Linked DNA regions of Homo sapiens: all the other regions are linked to region 2. The links are contacts of gene promoters, found by promoter capture Hi-C in human tissues and cell types (Jung and others, 2019). All regions are on one chromosome and are shown on one strand. The core of a region is centred on a gene start or on the middle of the fragment in contact, and the rest is flanking DNA. Distances in the headings are between cores, read along the strand shown.

Evidence for each region. Contacts are between HindIII fragments. The study calls those that stand out against the background at their distance.
Region 1: a contact is called between a fragment that was not itself captured here and the fragment with the promoter of MTFR2 in region 2, in 1 of the 25 tissues and cell types used here (bladder).
Region 3: a contact is called between a fragment that was not itself captured here and the fragment with the promoter of MTFR2 in region 2, in 1 of the 25 tissues and cell types used here (dorsolateral prefrontal cortex).
Region 4: a fragment that was not itself captured here is called in contact with the fragment with the promoter of MTFR2 in region 2 in 2 of the 25 tissues and cell types used here (dorsolateral prefrontal cortex and hippocampus).

Annotation. Positions count from the first base shown.
Region 1 is chr6:135,621,005-135,625,646 of GRCh38, forward strand. The region is part of intron 2 of AHI1-DT (AHI1 divergent transcript); the gene reads left to right. Among named protein-coding and RNA genes, the nearest start is that of LINC02524, 11 kb to the right of the region's middle. The HindIII fragment of the contact is 3,430 bases long and covers 796-4,225 here.
Region 2 is chr6:136,248,701-136,253,550 of GRCh38, forward strand. It overlaps MTFR2 (mitochondrial fission regulator 2), which reads right to left and starts at 1,611. Exons shown (of 8, transcript NM_001099286.3): 1 at 1,276-1,611; 2 at 337-453. The coding sequence starts at 399. RefSeq lists enhancers at 1,061-1,280, 1,931-2,080. The HindIII fragment of the contact is 3,026 bases long and covers 1,007-4,032 here.
Region 3 is chr6:135,313,847-135,318,343 of GRCh38, forward strand. The region is part of intron 26 of AHI1 (Abelson helper integration site 1); the gene reads right to left. Among named protein-coding and RNA genes, the nearest start is that of MIR548A2, 77 kb to the left of the region's middle. The HindIII fragment of the contact is 5,785 bases long and covers 1-4,497 here.
Region 4 is chr6:135,539,890-135,544,593 of GRCh38, forward strand. The region is part of intron 2 of AHI1-DT (AHI1 divergent transcript); the gene reads left to right. Among named protein-coding and RNA genes, the nearest start is that of AHI1-DT, 44 kb to the left of the region's middle. The HindIII fragment of the contact is 8,163 bases long and covers 1-4,704 here.

The sequences.
Region 1 (4,642 bases), core at 1,261-3,760, 630 kb before region 2:
CTAGACAGATGTGGTTTTATAAAATAATCATGGTCTTTTTGTTTGCCATGTAGAATAATTATGCACAAAATGGGAGTGTACATTCTGGAAAGGTCATCTTGACTTTTAAAGGGTTTCTTTAGGCATTCATGATTGTCACTTTCTGATCAGTATGGGACAAGTTGGGATACATAAAACTCTATTCTGTGTTAAAGGAATATTTCAAAGATTCCATGTTTAATGAAATAAAGTATTGCCTAGAAATTAGAGACTTGTGATTACTTGCACTGATTCATTCTGAAGTTTTCTGAATGCTCTTTTAAAAATCTGTAGCTCTTAGTTTCTTATTTCTTTCAGATATCAAGAAATGCGGATTTCCAATGCACTTAGCTTATGCTCAATATTAAGTGAAATAATTAATTTAGCATGTCCATGATGATACTAAATTAGTAATTCAGGGTAGTTAAAATTGCAGTGGATGCTGAACTGATCCAAGAAACAGTTTCAACCTTGTGAACTGGTTTGGAATTAGTAGTCTATCATTAAATAGTAATTAAACATCAAAGGCTTGAAATGGCCCATTATGTGCAACAGAAAGTTTGTGTGTTAGAATAAGACACTTGAATTAATATATATTTCATAATTTTATATAGCAATTATGTGGTGATAAACAGTATAATTATTTTATTTTTTATGAGTTCATTGTCTACATTTTATATTTTACATAGTAGTTATGGAGAAATTGCCTACTCTGTGATGATAAACAGAAGACTTTTTATTATTTTTAAACTCACTTTCTAAAAATATAACACAAAATTGGTTTATTTTATTTTATTTATTTATTTTGAGACAAGGTCTCACTCTGTTGTCCAGGCTGAAATGCAATGGCTCAATCTTGGCTTGCTGCAACCTCCACCTCACAGGCTCAAGTGATCCTCCCACCTCAGCCTCCCAAGTAGCTAGGACTACAGATGCACCACTATACTCAGCTAATTAATTTTTTTTTTTTTTTTTTTGGAGAGACAAGGTCTCACTGTTTTGCCAAGGCTGGTCTCACACTCCCAGGCCCAAGCGATCCTCTCATCTCGGCCTCCCAAAGTGCTGGAATTACAGGCATGAGCCACCATGCCCGGCTAATTTTCTTTTAAATCCCTATACAGAATGTAATTTGAATATGGATTTTGTTTTTGTAACTCATATTTGAAAAATGTCTCCTTTAAAAAAATCATACAAATATTGAAAGTATTTGAGATTTTTTAACCTAAATCAGGAATTTGTTTTAACATCTGTTATCAGTCATCTGAAGCCACAACACTTGGTTTTTAGAGCCATTCCACTTTATGATGTGAACATGCATGATGCATGCAAGGAAGAGTAACATTTCATACTATGTGCAAAATTGTCAAACCTTGTATCTTTGGTATGTGGGAGATTGGGGAAGTGAAAAATGAGTCTGTTTTATTAGGGGCAGTGGTATATCATGGTGTATGGGTCATCATTGTGAATCACAGGGAAAGTGGCATAGCATTTGGGATTGATCCACATGCCACCAGTAAATCTTGGCCCAAATCAAATCGAAATAGCACAGGAATTAAGATAGTTAACATTTGGCAGGGCACGGTGGCTCACGCCTGTAATCCCAGCACTTTGGGAGGCTGAGGTGGGCAGATCACAAGGTCAGGAGATCGAGACCATCCTGGTTAACACGGTGAAACCCCCTCTCTACTAAAAAAAACATACAAAAAATTAGCTGGGCATGGTGGCATGCACCTGTAGTCCCAGCTACTTGGGAGGGTGAGGCAGAAGAATTGCTTGAACCTGGGATGGGGAGGTTGCAGTAATTCGAGATCGCGCCACTGGACTCCAGCCTGGGTGACAGAGCGAGACTCCATCTCAAAAAAAAAAAAAAAAAAAAAAAAAAGCTAACATTTATCAATGGTTAATTATGTACCTGGCACAGTTCTAAGTGTTTAAAGTGTATTAAATCATTAATCCTCACAAAAACCTTTTAAAATAAATACTGTTATTAATTAGATACCAGCAGGGGTGAGCATTGTATAGAGGAGCAAACAGGTATGGAGTGGTTGAGTAGCTTGCTACACAACTAGAAAGTGGCGGTGCTGAAATTGAACTCGGGCAGTTTGGCTACCCAGTCAGCACTCCTAACTATTTTATTAAATAAATATCTCCCTCGGGACTTTGATTGAGGTCTAAGTCATAGAAATGGTCTGTTTTCCTGAATTTTTCTTCGTTAAGATGAAAGTTCTAACTTCCTGCCAGTAAATGTCTAATTTATCTGGAATTTGTATCTTCAGGATATTTGAGTCTTAGAGTTTGTTTCATTGTCCCAGTGGTCAGTCTAATGTTGAGCTTAAGTCATTTATGAATTCAGCCCTTTTGTTTTTATGAAGATGTAGAAAATATTCTATGGCTTTCTTTTCCTTTTCTTTTTGTAGAGACGGAGTCTCGCTCTGTCGCCCAGGCTGGAGTGCAGTAGCGCGATCTCTGCTCACTGCAACCTCCGCTTCCGGGTTTCAAGCAATTCTCCTGCCTCAGCCTCCCCAGTAGCTGGGACTACAGGCACTTGCCGCCACACCCAGCTAAAGAAAATATTCTATGGCTTTCCTGTGGGTTGCTCCTAAGCTTCCTCCAAGATATTTCTTCTTTCTCCTCTTTCCAGAAGCACAGTCACCCATCTAGCTTGGGCTCTCTTTAGCCTCCTCTGTAGTAATCCTAACTCTAGTCTCCTTACAATTTATTTTCTAGATTAACTTAAGCAATGTTCTGATCACAAACTTTACTATTGTCTCTCCATTTATCATTATATACAATCCAAGTCCCTTAATGTGATAGCCCAATGTCTTGTTGCTCTGGATCTACCTTTCTTTTCTTATCTTAAAATTCTTAATCATCATGGAAGCTAACATTTATTGAGCACTTACTATATAACAAGCACTGTGCTTACTTCCAAACATACAAAGATGAAGAATAGAACCTACTTTCTCCCTTTGTGATTATCACAGGGATTATCTCACTTAATCTTTGTGGAAACCATATGAGCTATGTAATATTATTAACTCCATTTTAATGAAGAGGAGACAAAGTCTTGAAGAGTTTATGTAACTTATTCAAGGTCACAAGAGAACCATGTGGTAGATCTGGGATTCACACCCTCACTTTTAAGCCCTATACAATACTCCCCATGTCATAAATTTTCTAACTCTAACCCATCTTTAGACGTATGGGGCTACTCACCACTCCCTTTATATCCCTCACTTTTTTCTCTTCATTATCATGTTTTATGTCATTTTATTCTCCTTGTATGTAGGTCTCAATTTTTTTCCTTATTTCTGCCTATTGAGTAACAACTGCCTTCAACCTGTGGATATAATTGACCTCTCCCACCACAGAACCAAAGCTTCATTTATTTTCTTAACTCCCATAGTGCTATAACCTTGTATGCTGCTTATACAGACTATATGATGAGCTTTATCGAGTGCTAAAATTTTTTTTAAGAGTAAACGCTTCTAATTATGTGTCATAAGTAAGTTCTCAGAGAAGCTGATTCAGACTTTCCACCAAAGGGTTGTGTTGGTACAGAAAACATAAACATCAACCACATTTTAGCACAATTTTCATCATTCTCTTGTGGTTTGACTTTTCTGATGATGTCTAAACTTAGACATAAAAGGAAACCCCGCCTTATATGGATGACATGGAATGGAAAAGAAGCTCCATGGCTTTCCTGTTTCACTGGTGGGTTTGACCTTTTCCACACGTGCATTTGCTTTGAACTCCTCCTAAGTTAGGTGCTACGTGAATACAAGTTATAATTAACATGCTTTCTTTGGGTCTCCTTGAACAAAATGTTCTCTCTCATGATATGCTATGCATATTTACTTTGAATGAATAATAGTTTTGAATTTGGATTTAGAAAGCAGATAATGTGACTGAAATCCATGTTTCTTCTTTGCCTTTAATCTAGGGCTGCAGGATGGGGCCCAAATGTGAAGGGAATAAAACATGAGAGAACCTTGTTTAGCCACGAGATAACCAGGGATAAGAGTTTAGCTTATAGGCTCTAATCAAACGTGTTATTTTTCATTGAAAACTGGCGTATGGTATCACTATGCAGCTGTTAACCAGCTGTTTCCTTTCTACTGGGGTTCTTGTGTGCTCTCTGCTTTAAATTTATGTGTTGCTTGGGATCCCGAAGGATAAAATAGTACTTGTAGGTTCAAGGTAGTGGTTGGAATGGTTGTTTGCATGTTTTTAGATTTTTTAGTTTAAAGCAACATGTTTAAAATGTTTTCTTCTAATTGCTATTGTGAATATGCAAATGTTTATTTAATCATGCTCAAGTGAGAGAAGATATAGAAACAATTCATAGGCTAATTCAAACCATGTTTTTCCCTCTCTTGTTTGCCCTACACTAATCTGCCAAGCCTGTATGATTGTCTCAGTTCTCCATTTAGCACCGAAGTTAGTTTTGAACCCTGAAAAAAGAGACATTTATATACTTAATTATTTACATATAATAATAAATATCGTGGTCATGTAATGGCTACTTCAGTCATTTTATTTCCGGAATTGGTTCCTTCCAGTGGGTTCTTGGTCTCGCTGACTTCAAGAATGAAGCCATGGACCCTCGCAGTGAGTGTTA
Region 2 (4,850 bases), core at 361-2,860:
TATTGAGCTTTAAATATTGAACTTGTTTATAAATTACCTTGAATAGAAGTTTTAATGTATCTGTGCAATAAATGTAATTCTGTGAAGCTCATGTCTATATTTTGCTTCCTTTGTATCTTCTGTTGGCATTTGTCCTATCAGGTAAATATGTTCTCAATAATCTTATCCCTCTTCTAACTCAAATCATCAAAGCTATACTATTACAAACTCACCTTTGTTCCAACTAAAAAGAAGCAACAACTTTGCCTTAAATCAAATGATTACATATAAGTCATTTTCAAAATGAAACCCAAGAACAAATACAACAGATCCATTCCAATCCAAAACGACATTTACCTGTTCTACAGGAACGCCAAAATATTCCAGCATCTCTCTTAAGATATTCAGTATGAGAGACATTGATGAAGCAAATACAGAAGCCAATTCAAAGGAACATTATCAGTTTCTTGGTGCCTTTGGGGAAAATTTTAGAAAATGTTACTCTTGACAAATAAATGCCAAATTGTACTACATAACCTGGAAAAGTCCTCTTGATACACGACACAGTCAACTAATTTCTCCTAGCCAGCATTCTTTTAAGTCAGAGAAAAAGAAAGGAAGGGGAAGTCTGGGGGAAAGAGAGGGTTGTAAAGGAAATTTCAATTAATTGGTTAGATTACATTAAAACCTCGTAGGATGTTTGAGCCTAGTTAATAGAGACCAATCAACAAACTGGACATCTACTTAGTAGGCAAGGCTTCAAGTTACATGCCACAGCGAAGCTCGCTCTTTCCTGAAAGCTTTGGGCTGAGACTCTTAGCAGATGGGTGAGTTTAGCCAACCCTTGAAAGCAGGCAAGGGACGACTCAGTTTTTAAAAAAATAAACAGTAGCTCTTCTCACACACATATCCTCACGTGTCAAGGGTGGGGCCAGGTGAAGATAACTGAATCATGGGGGCAGCTTCCCCCATACTATGCTCGTGGTAGTGAATAAGTCTCATGAGATGTGATGGTTTTATCAACAGGAGTTCCCCTGCACAAGCCCTCTTGCCTGCCACCATGTAAAATGTGACTTTGCTACTCATTTGCCTTCAGCAATGATTGTGAGGCCTCCCCAGCCATGTGGAATGCCCATCCCTCCTCACTCTTTTAAAATGAGAAGCATGAATTCCAGATACGGGACGTGACTTGGTCACCCATCTAGTAACAGGCCGTGACCAGAGCCGGATCGCGTCCCTCGCTTTGGTCACAAGCTTCCTGGTGCTCTCCAAACACAGCGTGGTAGCCTTGCTCACCTTCCTCCGAAGCCGAGCCCCCGGGAATCACCAGAACATCAAGCGGAGGGCGTTAGGAATCCTCAATCAAATTCCAGACTGCGCCACTCCTTGTGCAGATCGCTCAGACGTCTACCCAGACCTCGACCCAGTTTCCACCCGCGCGCCTCGGCTTGCAGCCACAGGCGGTAACGATGCCCTCAGCGAGGAATAAGAGGTCAACCCGGTGCCCAGCCCTGGAGCCTCACGCTCAGCCAGGGTAATGTTATGGGAAGCGCGCCCCCGTCCTCCTGCGCCCAACCAACCCACCTGCTAGTCCCTAGGACCGGACTGCTACTTCCGCATGACAGGACTGCTACTTCCGCATCCCAGGACGAAATCAAACTCCGCGGGCCAGGACCCGTAACCAGCCTCATTGGGCAAAACTGAAGATCGCTGCTTCTGATTGGTCATTGCATGATGTCAGGCAATTCGGGAAGCGACTGCTTTTCCTTCTCAAGAGGCGGGTCTTCCGAGAGTCAGCCAATAGGAGCTGACGGGCAGGGCAGGTCGCGTTAGGACAGCGTCGCTCCCGCAGGGCAAGGTTTTAGGTACAAACTCGTGAGCTGGACTCGCAGTCCGGAGTTCGTACCCCACAGAACTCTTCGCAGGGAGTGTCTTACTCGCTACAGCCGGACCCTAAGCGCATCCGCCTTCCCAAGTTCATCTGACACAAAATCGCGATTTATTTTTTGGTCATTTCATTTGTTCAGCTAATATTAAAATACTTGTGGAACTGGCAGAAGCCAAGCACTACCCCCGAGGGTTTTGCAGCTTTGCAGTGGCTAGGATTCATTCTTTCGTTCACTAAATACACCTACGTATCCAGGCTACCGAATATTGGGCCGGACACTCTCCTGGCTTAGCCGAGGATGGCAAGTGATATGACAGGTGATATCCCAGTTTTCATTTCTGATTTGAGGTTATTGGCTTCATACGAAATAGCTTCCTCTTCTGAATTTCAGCAAGACGTGCACTGGAGTGATATAACAATTTAAGATGTGTGCCTGCTACTGACATAATTTGAAAATCTAAGTTTTGAACTAATTTATCTATGGTCAACATCACTTATTCATTCAACCAATAATAGATATCTACTACGTAGCAGACACCATTCTAAGCACGGAAAATACCTTAATGAGAGGGCAGGTCCTCGTCCTCCTGGAGCTTACAGGCCAGCGGGGCATCTCGTTCCATTCTAACCCTAATTTGCTTTTCTCTATAGCACTTATCATATATATTTAGTTACGCTTCCACTACCACCAAACAAAATTGTAGACTCCAGGAGAACAGGAAGTTGTTTTGATCCATGCTCTATCTTTCCCCAGTGCTTTAGAAGAGTGTCTGGTATATAATAGGCATTCAGTCTATTTGTTGAATAAAATACCTAAATGTGGAATGACAGAAAAGATGATAATGATTTGGGACTAAGCAACTAGCAAAACAATTGATAGCAATAATAGTGATATGCCCAGTAGAGCTGGATACGGCTGAGTGAGCGCAGAACAAGGATGATGATGGATCAGAAACCCTAGATGGAGTAATTTTCTCAAGTTCCTTGTCCTTCCCTTTGCCCTTGTGAATAAATCACGACTTTATAACCCCCTCCCTTTCCCACTCTCTTATCAAACAGCAAACAGACAGGGCCAGAATGAAAACATCCCTCCAGAATGAGAACGGAACCACTACTCTTCCAGCTGCACTATTAACATAGGTTAATATTCCAACTGATTTAAGTAGCAAGGAGGACCCAGGTCAAATACTACATCCATAAATGCTTTGCTGACAACTTTCTTCTAAATTCTTCAGAGATATTTCTTCCAGTTTACTAAAGCATTCATAATTCCATTTTGACAAAAACATTTTATGTGATTGGACATCTTTTTCCATTGCTCATTTTTACACGAAATTAGATTTTCCTGAACTCTTAGAATGAGATAGGGTCCAAGAAAGCTTTTCTGACATCACAAAGCTAGCTTTTCTGTTGTCTCTGAGTAGTGTTCAAAAATATAGTGGCTTGCTTTCTGGAGTTTTCCTGTGTTCCCCTCCCCCAGTTTGATCCAGGTAGAAAACTTGCTATTCACAAGCTGCATGTTAACACTTTTTAAAGTATCTAGTTGTCAAGTATTAGCTCATTATATTGAATTAGCTCACTATATTGAGCTAGTAAGTCTATGTCCCTAAGATTTTTTACCTACTGACTCTGATTTCTGTCCTTTAAATATGTAACATGTTAAAATGAGGAGATCGGACAAGTATCAAATACCAGTCTCCTGATCCTATGTGATTTGAACATGTCTCTTCTCTAGCAAAGCCTTTTAAGGATTTGAACACAGCAATCAAGAACCTATCTTGGCTGGGAGCGGTGGCTCACGCCTGTAATCCCAGCAATTTTTAAGACAGCCCAGATTGTATTTGTTTCAAGCAGCAGCAGCAGACATAAAATTAAATCAAGCCTTTATAAATACGCAATTATCATTCTTTCATTTATACACACTCAAGGACCATTTATTACATAACTACAGTATGTATGCCATGCACAATACTAAATGCTAAAATTTTATTCTGGTGGAGACATGTAAATGGAATGAATTACTAGCCTAAAGGTATGTGCTGCATTCAGTGGCCCCTGAGCAAAAAGAGGAATTGGAAATTTTTTGCTAGGGTGTAAGACTTAAGATAGGTAAGTGAACAAGGAGTAGCATAAGGCAAAGTGGCCAAAAACAGTACATAGGGAGTTCCTACAGCTCATCATGACTGAGGTTCAGACAACAGGAAGACATCAATGCGTAAATTTTGGTTTTAAAATGACTGTAATTTTGCACTTGAAAAACATCCCAGAGATGGCAATATAAAGATGAAATTTATGGGTAGAGTCCAAGCTAAGAGACCAATGCAGCAGCTAGGGATAGTGATGAGCATCTATTATTGGGGGTTGAGGGGGGACGGCGGGGCGGCAGTGGAGAGAAGACAGAACACTTTATAGGGATGTCCAACTAGCTTAATGGATAAAGAACATAAGTTTGCAGTAGGATGGGGTACAGATGATGACAGTTTGGAGTGTTTAAGTTCCAGCAGAACTATCCAGGGAAGAGTTGGAGAGAAAAAATGGAGTTCAGGAGAGAAGTTTAAGAGGTAAATTTCAGAGTTACCAGCATCTAGATAAAAATGTTTGAAAACCTGTCATTCACAAAGTACTTCCATCCTTGTTCCTTCCACATACCAATGTTATTTACTATTATTTACTAATTTTTGCTTCCCTCCCCCCCCCTTTGTAAACTTAGCCAGAGACAGTAGCTGTGAAATGCTGGATTTGAAGTGCTAGAACATGTTTCACACTAACCTGAAATATGACAGCACCATGAAAACTCTTTATGGCTGTTCCAATTACTTTCAGGGCTTCATCTGAAATCTGTATTGCCTTTCTACTTCCTTTTAAACAATAGGTTGTTATCTTTTATCCTTTGGAATATCTGGAATATTCAAATGGTTTAAAATGGCAAGAGAACTTTGTATAATGGTAAGCTTGGAAATTTTGAATAAAAGTGGTATTTAAA
Region 3 (4,497 bases), core at 799-3,298, 930 kb before region 2:
CTCAAGGGTAATAGAAACATACTAAGGGAGGGGGGGTCAGGTCACCTCAGTTTCAAAGGTTACCGTGTTGCAGAGTCAGGGACATGAGAAAAATCACAAAGAGTAAAGACTGTATGTTTCATAGCATCACACAGTTTTTAATACAGACTAAAAGTATTGTTAGCTGTCACAGCAACCCTTTACACCAATGTTATAAATGCTTCCACTGCATTAAAGGTTTTTATGTTGTAAATTTAGACCTCAGGTTTGTGTTATGTTTGTGTTAACCTTATGTTTATGTTATGGACCTCATGTCTGTGTAACCCCCAAATTCATGTGTTAAAATCCTAACTCTCAACAAGATGGTTGTTAGGAGGTATTTGGGAGGTAATTAGGTCTTGAGGGCAGAGCCCTCATAAATGGTATTGGTGCTTTTATAATGAGAGACACAAAAAAGCTTGCTTCCTCTCTCTGCTCTCTGCCCAGTGAGGATAAGTGAGGTTGCAAACCAGGAAGGAGACTTTCACCAGACCCTGGATCTGCCAGCACATTGATCATGAACTTTCCAGCTTCCAGAAGTGTGAGAAAAAAATTTTGTTATTTAAGCCACCCAGTCTACATTTGTTACAGCAGACACAACTAAGACAAGCATTTTCCTAAATTCTTAAATCTGCTGCTGAATTACAAACAATGGGTAATATTACACTTGTAACATTTGCCCATAATCAAATTCCTGCCAATCCTCTTGACTGTATCCCTTACAGTCCTTACATTGTTGTAGGCAACCATCACCATATATCCTTGCTTATTTGAAACTGATGTTTTACCAAGAAACCATTTTTCTTTCAGTTCCTTACAGCACAGGCTACTCATTCTCACATAGTTCATGGTTCTCTCATGAACCATGAGAGCCGGGAGTTAACAATGGCCTCCTCTTAGTTCCCTACTGCTGATTTTAGGGTATTGCAATGCCAAAGCACTTTTCCTTGGGTGCTCTGACACCTGGCTATTACATCTCCTGCTTATCTTTGCATCTGTGATCTGCAGACCTTGTGGTCATTCTAACACAATGGCTGTCAATATTGGCTGCACATTAAAATTACCTGGAAAGCTTTTGAAATCTGCCCTTGCCTACGTCCTATTTCACCAACTAAATGTATTTGAAGGGGTGGAGATTGTAATCCATATCTAGTTTTTTAACTGGTTTGGTGATTTCAATGTGAAGCCAAAGTTGAGACCTTTGTTCTAACCTAAGAATTAAGTATGTCAGCTCTTTGTTCATCAGTTTCCTCTTCATCCTAACTCTTGCTATCATCCTGGAATCTTAATGTTCAAGAGTACAACCTGTCCAACACTCTGGGTCCTAGTTCCTTGACCAGTTCAACTCTAATAACATGTTCCTCAATTTCACTTCAGCTTTTATACATACTTTATGAATTTATCATAACCTGAGCTGCCTGACATCTGAGATACTAAATAAGCAAAAGAGTTTATGGCCTTGAACTCTATAGTTCTAGCTTGGTGACTCCTTTTCCGTGTGATGCTATGCCTCTACCTGGGCCCCGGTAGCTTGCTGTAACCTTGTAGAGGAGAACGTGCTTTCTAACTCTGCCAATCTTCTGATTCTACGTCCTTTCCAAATGGATAATCCTCTATGGTGCATCACTCTGGTAATTCTTACCAATTCTATCAAGTCTCTCAACCTCTTGTGTTCCTTTCACATTCACAACTCCAATTATATATTAAACCAAATCTGCCTTCTCTACTGCTATGCCCTAGATGCTGAGAAGAGACTACTGAAGAAGAAAAAATCCAACTGTAGATTTATGCCACCTCCATTCTTATGGTATCCAAAAGAGCAGCTCCCAGAACTACTAAGAAATCTTTTTATATGTCCTAAATGAGCCCCTATTTTCCTTACTCAGATGGTTATTATTCTTCTTGTGCTCCTATCTCACTCCTTTGCCACTCGCATTAGAAATGAACCTTGCTTTTTGTTTTGGAGAACATAAAAATATCTTTAATTTCTAGACTTCAACCCTTTATTAACTTATCTGCATCCCTATCCACACTTACCTGTTTAGAGGGGCACTGCTCTAAGCTCCATCCTGTTGACATTTTTGGCCAGAGAATTCTTTGTTGAGGGGAGCTGTCCTCTGCATTCTAGGATACTGAGCAACATCCATGACCTCTGCCCACCAGTATTATCCCCCACCTTGTAGTTGAGAAAACAAAAAAACATCTCCAAACATTGCTAAATGACTCCTGGATGGCACAATCACTCTCACTTGAGAACCCTCTGCTTGGAGCAAGACTGATCTGTCAACCTGTCTTTCCAATAAAGTACTTCCTGCTTCCTCCAAGATCCACTGTGTCCTTGGTGTCCTTTCTTTATCTGTCTTCAACCTGAACCTGTCTATTGGCTTTGTCTCCTTAATATATAATTTTACATCTGTCCATTATTTAAAAAATCATTCATGGACACCAGACCTCCCTTTAGCCACTGAGGAATCTTTTTTTATTCTTCAAAGTGAAACTTTGAGAATGGCTTCCATGAGAGTTCACATGCTGAGGCCTCATTCCACCTTTACTCTGCTCTTTAATCCTTGCCACTCTATTGATACCGGTACAAAGCTACCAGGGTCCTCTTGATGACCAAATGCTTCGACAACCTAACTGCTTGGCTGTTTCCAACTATACTCTTCTTGAACCTCTCTACCTCTTCTGGCTTCCAGGGCACTTTTTTCTGTTTATTATTTTTTCTTTTTTTCCTTTTCCTTTATTCTTTCTTAATTTTCTCTTCCTTTGACTGTCCCTTAATACTAGTGTTTAATTAGGTTCTGTCCTTGGCCTTCTCCTCTTATAGCTCTATGACATACTTTCTGGGCTCTGCCTTCATTACAAGCTTCCACTTACTGATATAATAGAACTAACACACTAATTCTCATTTGATTTTGAAGCTCTACATTCTCTCAAATTCCAATCCTGCATTTCTGGCTCCCAGTGAATATTTCTATCTGGGAGCACTACAGATACTACTAACAAATTGAGATATCTAAAACTGAGCTTATCATATCTTACTCTGCAAGGAATGGTGATTCCTTTTCCCTGTCTTCCCAAATCTTTCTTATTTATTTCATTACTTCTATGGCACCACTATTTATTCAGTTGTCTAAGACCCTTAGCAAAATCCTAGATTCCAACTTCACTAATAAAATCCAATCAATCATAAAATCCTGTCAATTACAGCTTATGTCCCCTGACCTCCATCCCCCCTAGTTCAGGTTTTTGTATTTTATTTCCATGGATTCCTAATTTCCTTGTGCTAGGTCCTTAGCTACCTCAAATTCAGCAACTATTCTGCTGCACTAGAATGACCTTTCTAACATGCAAATCTGTTCATGTCATTCCCTGAATTACGTCCTTCAGGGGATCCCCTTCGTCAGGAGTATAAAATTTAAGTGTTTTAGTAGAGTATGCTACGCTCTTCTGTGGCCTGGTTCCTGGATTTCTCCTGTACTTCTCTCTATTAGAACTTATGCCCAGACATAATCATACCATCCCATAACTTACTCACGTTATTCCCTCTGCTGGAAAGGTTTTTCTAACTTCACTGACCTAACACATATTTTTGCATCCTAGATGCCTCAGGTCAAGTATTTCCTCCTTGGGAACTCTTCATGGACTCCCCCAGGGTATATTTAAGAGGCTTTCTTTGTATGTGTTCCCAATATACTGTGTACATATCTGCATTATAGTTTCTACCAGAGTCTACTGGACTTGCTTGCTTGCAGGTGTGTGCACCAGCCTGTAAGCAACTTAAGGGCAAGTGCCTTGCCTACTCCTGAAACTCCTGTTTCAGTGGGGATTAATAGAGCGCATGGATGAAGGCATTCAATAAAACATGCTGACTGACTGAATGATATACGTCAGGTTCAACTGTCAAAAAACTTTATTTTGACACTGTAATGATATGTACATGAAATGTATTTGTAAAAAAAATCTATGTTGGTTCATGGAATCAAGAAGCAGTGAGGTTATTCAGTGTAAGGGAAGAGCTAATTTAATATAATAAAACAAGTTTAGTAAGCAATATACATGATAGTACAGTGCTTATTAAACCTTTCTACCAAAGTACTGCTAACAACAGAAGAATACTGATTAATATCCCTGAAGGGTCTGATGACACAGACTAAAATACATGACATTTCTCTGGCTACTCTGGCTGGTAATACATCCACATTCATTTTAACGTAAAAACATTTTAAATTATTTGCAAGTAAAAGGAATGCTCCAGAAAGACAGAACTTCTTAATTTTGTGAACTCCAGTGAGCTCTAGCATAAATGTTTACCTCTCAGGTGGGGCTGATGACACTGTCAGTATCACAGTTAAAGAAATAAGTGCAGAGTAGAAACAGCACACCTAAAGCCACAAGTTCTACTTTGGGTCCTTGTCCCATCACTTAGGCTGTGACTTGGAGTCTACTTTAACCTCTCTGGGCCTCCTCAGTTTCCTT
Region 4 (4,704 bases), core at 937-3,436, 710 kb before region 2:
AGATTGTGCCCACCCAGATTGAGGGTGGGTCTGCCTTTCCCAGTCCACTGACTCAAATGTTAATCTCCTTTGGCAACAACCTCACAGACACACCCGGGAACAATACTTTGCATCCCTCAATCCAATCAAGTTGACACTCAATATTAACCATCACACCTTGTCTGGGATCAGTTTTGTGTAGAATTAGGTTCACGGATAAAGTTAGCTTTGTTCTCTTCCAGTATTTTCTTGAATGAGGATGGTTTCCACTTAAGGAATAAAGACATTAGTTTTGATGGCTAAGAATGGAGTTTTCACTCAATCCTGTCTGCACATTGCCATCACCCCAAGTAATGCCTTAGCCACACTCACAGAAGTTTGATTAACTTGCTATGGAGAAGCATGAGCATTGGTATTTTTTATCCATTGTCTCCATGATACTACTGTGCAGTTTATTTAAAAAAATGGGCTTATGGTCAGGGAGGGTTAGGGCAGATGAACAGCTGGTCAGCAGAAAACAGGAACTGCAGCACCTATAAGGCTACAAATGAAGCAAAGCATCAGTCAAACACTTGGCCTCTTAGGGGAAACCATTTATTTGGGCAGATATGGTAGGGAAATGCGGGATAAATTTCTGCCATCATATGATAAGCCCTAGGATTTACCAAACACCTTGGATCATCTTGGAATCCTCTCATTCTAAGATAACAGATCTCTCTTCTGGCCTCCTATGGGTGTTTGGATATAAAAGACAGATACACAACTTTCACATCCAGGCCCTCAGATACACATTTCCCAGGGTAGCCCTGAGGTGGTGCTGCTGTACTTGTGGTCACATCTTGGTTTGAAAACGCTGGTAGAGAGAGTGGAACTTTTCCCTTCTTTTCACAAAGAGTATGGGGCTTTTGCAAGGCCAAAAATAGAAAAAAAAAGCCTAAAGTTGGTGCCTACATGTTTGTGTGGAGCATTTAAGCTCAAACAGGGCATATATATGTTGGGTAAGAAAGTGGATATTCATCCATAATGACAGTATACTGGTGATATCTCTGCTATGTCTTGACATAAATAGGATTCCTATAGTTTTACCTTGCTCAGTTGCAGGAGTGGGAAAGGCAGCTGAGTGGGGAAACTGAGTCAATATATACAATGTTAACAGTAGACTTTTGAGCCAAAGGATGGGGTGGACACATTCAAGAATGAAAGGAATAGTGGGTTTGCAACCGTAGAGGCTGAGAGCAACATTAAGTAACAAGTCACAGACAGCACTGTTCTCTCAACTCCCTCTGTGCAGTGCTAGTGTATATGAGTGGGGGTCCCCTGATAATGTCTACTCACACAGGAGCCAGCTTGAGTCAGTGGACAGCTGGGCTGACCCTACCTGCATTTGTACTTCAAAGCTATGTGATACTTTAGTGTATTATAGGCTGCACTTGGAGGTGTGTTGTTTTGAAGACAGATTTGTGGCACAACCAGTGGAATATTCTCTGCCCAAGAGTGGCGGCTGAGGCATCTAGCTTATTAAAAAGGCCTCCAAACTGGTCTCCCTGCCTCCACCCTTGCCCCTCACAACTCTACTCTCAACAAAACAATAGAAATGATCACTTGAGAATCAAACTCTGTCTTCTCTACTCAAAAACCCTTCTATGGCTCCTCTACTCAGGCTGAAAGTCAAGGTCAGTACCATGGCCTCTAAGGCCCTTTGTGATTTGTGTCCCCTCCCCTACTCCTCTGACTTCATCTCCTCTTACTGGTCCACACTTCTGCCCCAGGGCCTTTGCATTTGCTTGTCTTTCTGCTTAAAATACTCTTCCCTATATATTTTGGGGAGCTCATTCTTCTTCTCCTTTAAATCTTTGTTTGAGTGTCATCTTTGCAGAAAGGCTTTCCTTGACCACCGATTTCGATTTAAAGTGACATCTGACTGAGCCAGAAAGAAATAGATTCCCTGAATAGATAAATAATGAGCTCTGAAATTGAATCAGTAATAAATAGCCTACCAACTAAAAAAGCCTCAGGATCTCATGGATTCATAGTAGCATTCTACCAGATACATAAAGAAGAGCTGGTATTATTCTTACAGAAACTATTCCAAAAAATTGAGGAGGGACTTCTTCCCAACTCATTCTATGAGGCCAGCATCATCTTGATACCAAAATTTGGCAGAGACACAACAAAAAAGAAAACTTCAAGCCAATATCCTTGATGAACATTGATGGAAAAATTCTCAACAAAGTACTTGCAAACCGAATCCAGCAGCACCTGAAAAGGTTAATCCACCATGATCAAGTAGGCTTCATCTCTGGGAGACAGTGTTGGTTCATGAATAAATGTGATTCATCACATAAACAGAACTAAAGACAAAAACTACATGATTATCTCAATAGATGTGGAAAAGACTTTTGAAATAATTCAACATCCCTTCAAGTTAACAAGTCTCAAAAACTAGGTATTGGAGGAGCATGTTTCAAAATAATAAGAGCCATCTATGACAAACCCACAACAAACATCATAGTGAACAGGCAAAAGCTAGAAGCATTCCCCTTGAAAACTGGCACAAGACAAGAATGCCTTTTCTCACCACTGCTATTCAACATAGTATTGGAAGTCCTAGTCAGAGCAATCAGGCAAGAGAAAGAAATGAAGGGCATTCGAATAGAAAGAGAATTCAAAGTATCTCTGTTTGCAGAAGGTATGATTCTATATCTAGAAAACTCCATAGTCTCAGCCCAAAAGCTCCTTCAGCTGAAAAACAACTTCAACAAAGTTGCAGGATACAAAATCAATGTACAAGAATCACTAGCATTCCTACACACCAACATCAACCAAACTGAGACTCAAATCAGAAAGGCAATCCAATTCACAATTGCCACACATACAAAATAAAATACCTAGGAACACAGATAAGCAGGGAAGTAAAAGATCTCTACAATGAGAACTACAAAACACTGCTCAAATAAATCAGAGAAGACACAAACAAATGTAAAAACATCCCATGCTCATGGGTAGGAAGAAGCAATATCTCTAAAATGGCTATACTGCCCAAAGCAATTTCCAGATTCAATGTTATTCCTATCAAACTACCAACTTCATTTTTCACAAGGCTAAACAAAATTATTTAAAAATTTATGTGGAACCAAAAAAAGAGCCCGAATAGCCAAGGCAATCCTAGGCAAAAAGAACAATGCAGGAGGCGTCATGTTACCCGACTTCAAACTATTCTACAAGGCTACAGTGACCAAAACAGCATGGTACTGGTACAAAAGCAGGCAAATAGACCAATGGAACAGAATGGAGACCCCAGAAATAAGGCTGCATATCTATGACCAACTGATCTTCGACAAAACTGATAAAAATAAGCAATGGGGAAAAGACTCCCTTTTCAATAAATGGTGCTGGGATAACTGGCTAGCCATATGCAGAAGATTGAAGCTGGACCTCTTCCTTATACCCTAAAATCAATTCAAAATGGATTAAAGACTTAAATGTAAAACCTCAAACTATAAAAACCCTGGAAGACAACCTAGACAATACTATCCTGGACCTAGGAATGGGCGAAGATTTCACAACAAAGACACCAAAAGCAATTGCAACAAAAGCAAAAGTTGACAAGTGGGATCTAATTAGGTCAAAGAACTTCTGCACAGCAAAAGAAACTATCATCAAAGTAAACAGACAAGCTACAGAATGGGAGAAAATATTTACAAACTATGCATCTGAGAAAGGTCTAATATCCAGCATCTATAAGGAACTTAAACACATTTACAAGAGAAAAAACAACCCTATCAAAAAGTGGGCAAAGGACGTGACCACTTTCAAAAAGAAGACATGCATATGGGCAAGAAGCATATGAGAAAAAGCTCAATATCACTGATTATTAGAGAAAAGCAATGAAAACCACAATAAGATACCATCTCACATCAGTCAGAATGGCTATTATTAAAAAGTCAAAAAATAACAGATGCGGGGGAGGTTGTGGAGAAAAGGGAATACTTTATTACACTGTTGGTGGGAGTGTAAATTAGTTCAACCATTGTGGAAGGCAGTATGGCATTTCCTCAAAGAGTTAAAAGCAGAACTACCATTTGACCCAGTAATCCCATTACTGGGTATATACCCAGAGGAATATAAATCATTCTACCATAAAGACACATGCACGCAAATGTTTATTGTCTCACAATACCAAAGACATGGAATAAACCTAAGTGCCCATCAGTGACTGACTGGATAAAGGAAATGTGGCACATACGCACCATGGAATATTATGCAGCCATAAAAAAGAATGAGATCATGTCTTTTGTGGGAACATGGATGGAGCTGGAGACTGTCATCGTTAGCAAACTAACACAGGAACAGGAAACCAAATACTGCATATTCTCACTTATAACTGGGAGCTATATGATAAGAACTTATGAACACACAGAAGGAAACAACAGACACTGGGGTCTACTTGAAGGGGGAGGGTAGGAGGAGGAAGAGAAGAAGAAAAGATAACTATTGGGTACTCTGTTTAATACCTGGGTGGTGTAATAATATGTACAACAAACCCCTATGACATATGTATATCTATGTAACAAACCTTCACATATACCCCAAAACTAAAATAAAAATTAAAAAAATTAAAAAAATTAAAATTCATGAAAAAAAAAGTGACACCCAACACTTCCTAACCCATGTCACTGCTTTATTTTTCTATTTTCTTCATTCATTCATTCATAAGTTCCATGA